Regions from separate parts of the Homo sapiens genome. Here region 1 is linked to region 2. The links are contacts of gene promoters, found by promoter capture Hi-C in blood cells and fetal thymus (Javierre and others, 2016). All regions are on one chromosome and are shown on one strand. The core of a region is centred on a gene start or on the middle of the fragment in contact, and the rest is flanking DNA. Distances in the headings are between cores, read along the strand shown.

What was found. The method cuts DNA at HindIII sites, captures the fragments that hold promoters and counts their contacts. A CHiCAGO score of 5 or more calls a contact.
Region 1: a contact is called between a fragment that was not itself captured here and the fragment with the promoter of SPTAN1 in region 2, in 1 of 17 cell types (M2 macrophages). The highest score is 5.6, in M2 macrophages.

Annotation. Positions count from the first base shown.
Region 1 is chr9:128,685,544-128,688,243 of GRCh38, forward strand. It overlaps a transcript of SET not described here. Among named protein-coding and RNA genes, the nearest start is that of SET, 2.3 kb to the right of the region's middle. RefSeq lists enhancers at 396-485, 526-625, 1,976-2,700. The HindIII fragment of the contact is 3,602 bases long and covers 1-2,700 here.
Region 2 is chr9:128,551,200-128,553,899 of GRCh38, forward strand. It overlaps SPTAN1 (spectrin alpha, non-erythrocytic 1), which reads left to right and starts at 1,388. Exons shown (of 57, transcript NM_001130438.3): 1 at 1,388-1,497. It overlaps LOC101929270 (a long non-coding RNA gene), which reads right to left and starts at 1,214. Exons shown (of 4, transcript NR_188457.1): 1 at 1,169-1,214. RefSeq lists a silencer at 1,032-1,801. The HindIII fragment of the contact is 3,549 bases long and covers 566-2,700 here.

The DNA.
Region 1 (2,700 bases), core at 56-2,555, 130 kb after region 2:
GCCGTATGCTGTGGACATCCCAATTTTACAGATCAGAACAGGAGGCTCAAAGAGATGTGTATGTGTCTGTGGCGGGGGAGATGTTCCAGGCTCTGGAGATTTTTTGGTCTGTGCTTGGGACACTGCAGCACTGTGGGGGAATGCCAGCCTCTCTCTGTTCCAGTCTTTCTGGCGGTGGGGTTCTGTCCTCTTCAAAGGGAGCCGGGGGCCGGGCGCGGTGGCTGACGCCTGTAATCCCAGCACTTTGGGAGGCCGAGGTGGGCAGATCACCTGAGGTCAGAAGTTCAAGACCAGCCTGGCCAACATGGCTAAACCCCATCTCTACCAAAGACAGTTAGCCAGGCGTGACGATGCATGCCTGTAATCCCAGCTACTTGGGGGGCTAAGGCAGGAGAATTGCTTGAACTCCGGAGGCGGAGGTTGCAATGAGCCGAGTTCGTGCCATTGCACTCCAGCCTGGGCGACAAGAACAACAACAACAACAACAAAAAAAAAAACAACCAGAGGGGCCAGGAGGAGAGGAGAGAGGCAAGGGAGGAATTCTGAGTGAGGGGAGAGGCCAAGAAGAGAGAATGCAGAGCTTCTGGTGTTGGAGACGGGGAGAGAGCAGAGTCCTAAGAGTGGGTGAATAACCTCTCAGTGTGCCCCCGGCTCGCCTGTGTTTACTCACACCCCTGGCCCTTTTGCTTTCTCTTTCTCTTCAACTTCCTAGTGTGCTCATATTTATCTTGAGAAGCACTGTGTGGGGAAGGGCAGGAAAAGAGGGGCAGGGAGGTGGCAGGGAGGGTTGGGAGGCCAGAAAGGGAACCTGAAAGCCCACTCCCCCATCAGAAGGCATTACAGGGTTCCCTGGGACCCCTGCAGGTGCTTGGGAAACAGGCAGATAAGGCACTTAGGAGACATTGTGGGTCAGGAGTGACCCTATGGGTCAGGCTTTGAGGATGGAAGCAGCCAGCCCTTGGCATAGTGTTCTCAGACAGACTCAGCCCAGGAGCGGGTCGTGAAATCAATTTGGTGGGGTGTGACCTGCATTTTAAATAGGAAATTAGAATCACATCACCCTTGGTAAGGGTAAGTTTTGGTTTGTGTGTGCTAGGTCATGATGTCAAAAGTACTTCTGACTGTTGGTCACATTAAAAAAACTGAGGCAGGGTGCGATGGCTAACTCTTGTAATCCCAGAGCTCTGGAAGGCTGAGGCTGAAGGATGGTTTGAGCTCAGGAGTTTGAGACCAGCCTGGGCAACATGGTGATACCTCCTCTCTACAAAAGATAAAAACAAAATTAGCCAGGCAAGGTGGCAGTGGTGCTTGCCTGTGGTCCCAGCTACTCAGAAGGCTGAGGTGTAAGAATCCCCAGAGCCCAGGAGGTCAAGGCTGCAGTGAGCCATGGTTCTGGGCGACAGAGAGAGACCCTGTCTCATAATAATAACAACAATAAAAATAGAAAAACTGTTTTAAGGTAAGGGCTTTGTCAATTGCTACTTGGTTTAGAATCTTGGTTCTGTCACTTGCAACAAAGTTTAGTTTATGCTAGGCACAGTGGGTGGCTCATGCCTGTAGTCCCAGCACTTTGGGAGGCCGAGGTGGGCAGATCACCTGAGGTCGGGAGTTCGAGACCAGCCTGGCCAACATGGTGAAACCCCGTCTCTACTAAAAAATACAAAAATTAGCTTGGCATGGTAGTGGGCGCCTGTAATCCCAGATACTCGGGAGGCTAAGACACTCACCGTGCACTGTCTTGAACATGAAAGATGCTGCTTGAGCTTTAAGAGCTGATAGTGGGCCGAGCTCAGTGGCTCATGCCTGTAATCTCAGCACTTTGGGAGGCAGAGGCAGGTGGATCACCTGAGGTCAGGAGTTTGAGACCAGTCTGGCCAACATGGTGAAAACCTGTCTCTACCAAAAAATACAAAAATTAGCAGGGCGTGGTGACTCACATCTGTAATCCTAGCAACTCAGGATGCTGAGGCAGGAGAATCACTTGAACCCGGGAGGCGGAGGTTGCAGTGAGCTGAGATGGCACCACTGCACTCCAGCCTGGAAGACAGAATGAGACTTGGTCCCCTCCCCCACCAAAAAAAAAAAAAAAAAAAAAGAGCCAATGGTAAAGTGTGAGTTCTGGAAGGCAGAATTCCAACCCCAAGTTCTGGTTAAAAATGTCCAAAGAGAGATTTCAGGTATTTTTTTGTTTTTGTTTTAGAGATAGGGTCTTGCTCTGTCACTCAGGCTTCAGTGCAGTGGCTGCATTGGGGCTCATTGAAGCCTGGAATTCCTGGGCCCAAGCGATCCTCCTGCCTTGGCCTCCCAAAGTGTTGGGATAACAGGAGTGAGCTATTGCATGGCCAGGATTTGAAATTGGCCAGCGTATCACTAAAATCAACAAATGGTACTGGCCGGGCGCAGTGGCTCCCGCCTGTAATCCCAGCACTTTGGGAGGACGAGGTGAGTGGATCACCCCAGGTCAGTAGACCAGCCTGGCCAAGGTGGTGAAACTCCATCTCTACTAAAAATACAAAAATTAGCCGGGCATGGTGGCACGTGCCTGTAGCCCCAGCTACTCGGGAGGCCGAGGCAGGAGAATTGCTTGAACCCGAGAGGCAGAGCTTGCAGTGAGCCAAGATTGCGCCACTGCACTCCAGCCTGGGGGACAGAGCAAGACTCCCGTCTCAAAACAAACAAACAAATGCTACTAATCAGGGT
Region 2 (2,700 bases), core at 138-2,637:
AGCTGCAGAGCTCCCCGTCTGCCTGACTGCACAGGAATGATCTGGGTGTTACTCCCAGTGGCTGCGGCCCAGCTGTCACCGGAATGGGGATAGGGAAAGGGCTTCCTAATCCAGGGCTTCTGGCTACAGAGTTTAGAGCCAGGACCTTAAACTGCTAGGACTTTAAGTATCAGAAATTCTGAGAATCTTATTTTTCTCTTTCTGCACCCCAGCAGCCACCCGCATCAAAATGCCTCCCTTTCCTATTTGAAGGCAATACACATACGGTTGCAAAGGGAAGGTTCTGACTGCTGAGATGTAAATCCTAGCTCTTCCAATTGGTAGCTGCCTGACCTGGGCCAAGAGACTTAGCCTACATGAGCATTATGTAAGAGTGCCCATTTGTAAAATGGGAAAACATCTCATAAAATTATTGCAAAGATTAAGAAATGAAAAGGTAACACGAAATACTTAGCATAGTGCCTAGTACACAAGGCAAGTTCGATTAATTGTGCCAGAAAGAACCTTAATGTCTTGTTTATGAAATAGGATGAATGTAGCCTATTCCACTGGCGACCTGTGAGAAAGCTTTTGTTGCAGGAATGTAAGAAATTATTATTTTGCCGCTGCCGTTTCCTCCCCCATAATCTCCAAGAACATAAGAAATTAACTCTCCAAATCCCAGAATGACAGCTTTATGCCCCAAATTAGTCGACTTAATTTTTTTTCTGATTCGGATTTGGCCTTTTCCTCTCACCACCTCCTCAAACCCGGGGCCCCAAATCATCCGCGTCTTCTTGACCCCAGCCCCCACCGAATTAGGCTGACTTGGGACCCCAGCGCCAGCCTCCTCCTCGGGAAAGTGAGCAGGAAGAGACGCACTCGGGTGATCTCACCCTTTGGGACTGGGCGTTTTTCCGGCCGGGGCGCGCAGCATCCCCAGCCAGACTGCAGCGATACCCCCGCCCCGCCCTTCTCCGCAGTCCTGGAAGAGCTCCCAGGGCGGAGTGGTGCGATGCAGACGACTGTCCGCAGGGCGGGCGGTGGCGGGGCGCAAGCTGCGGGGAGGGAGGTGAGGCGGGAGCGTCTCTACCGCCAGGGCGTAGGCAGTGACCTCACTGCACCATCACCCCTCACCCCTTGCGCGCGCCCCATTTCCCCATCCTCCCGCGGCCCGCCCCTCGCTCACCTCTTCCCCCGCATTGTCGCTTCGGCTCCTTCCGGGATCGCTCGGCCCTTTCCGCCGGGCGGTCGGGCGGCGAGCCGGCGGGAGCACCGCCCCCTTTGCTCCGCCGGCGCGCTCCCCCACCCCTCGCGCAGCGCCGGGGCGCTTCCCCCGGCGCTCGCGCCCGCCCGCCGCGGGAGCGCGCGTAGCCGCTTATAAAAGAGGCGGGGCGCGCGCGTCGCCGCCACTACCCGCTGCGGAGTGAACGGTGTGGAGCGGAGGCCGCGGAGGCTCCTCGGTCCTTCAGCACCCCTCGGCCCGACGCACCCACGCCCCTCACCCCCCGAGAGCCGGTGAGAGGGGCAGCCGGGGAGCTCCGGGAGGGAGCGGGGCCCCGGGCAGCCGACCCCCGGGTGGGAGCTGGGCAGCTCTTCAGGCGGGGCGGGGCCGGCGCGCGGACAGGTGAGCCGGGCGGGCCGCGGGGCTGCCTCCATTCGGCTGAGTGGGGGAAGCCGCTGCCGCTGCTTTTGTGGCGCGTGGGCTGCGGAGGAGCAGCCGGGCCGAGGCTCGGCGCCGCCGCTGGAATGTCACTGACGGGGGGAGGGGGCGCGAGGCCGCCGGGTCCCTCCCAACCACCCCCAAGCCTGGCTGCGGCGCGGCCCTGCCCTGCCCCATCCGGCTGCGGCAGGTGGGTGGGGGCTCCCTCGTCGGGATCTTCGCCAGCCGCCTCCCTGCAGAACGCTCCCCGCACCGCCCCCGGTCCCTTCCCTCGGCCGGGAGCGACTTCTGCAGCTCGTTCTTCCGAATCGCACCAGCAATGCCGGCCAGCCGTAGAGGGAGGAAGAGCCCGGGGAGCCCGAGCATAGCGTAAACGGCTCTCTGACCTTAATTTCATCCTGCATGGCGAATCTCTGCCGTCTCTCTGAACGCAGAAGGGTCTGAGACTGGCCGTCTCCTTTTCTTTCCTTGTAATAAACATTTTTCTTTCTTCCTAGTTGTGATTTGCTTGTAAATAATAGGTAAATGCAGTGCTTGCATGGTATGTGGCTCAAATCAAATAACTTAATAGCTTAGCGTTCTTGTTTGTGTGTGTGTTTCCTGGGACTGGGTCTTTCGAGTCGAGATACAGTGTCAAAAATTCTACCATACCACTGTTGAATGATAGAACAGTCTTTTGTTTGAAAGCTGTCCCTGAGAATTTGATTAGACGCTTCCCCTAGAACATCGCTTTCAAAAGTCTCTGATGTACTAGAGTAAAATATATTTTAAATAAGCGCCTTGTTAAAAGTTGAATATGTTTTAAATGAAAAGCCTAAATAGCTCAGAAAGCTGGGTTGAGATGATGCTTGAACTGTTCCAACATCTAATCAGATCTCTTTTATATAATAGATCCTAAAATATTTAAGCCCTTTGTTCTGTCTTCATCATGTTATTTTAGAAAAACTTACCATCATGGCTGTTCGGGAAGAACAGGAGAGAGGCCATATGAAGTATTTTCATAATGTGTTGAGAAATTGCGTCGTCATAGCAATTGGCCTTAAGTAAAACAGAATGTA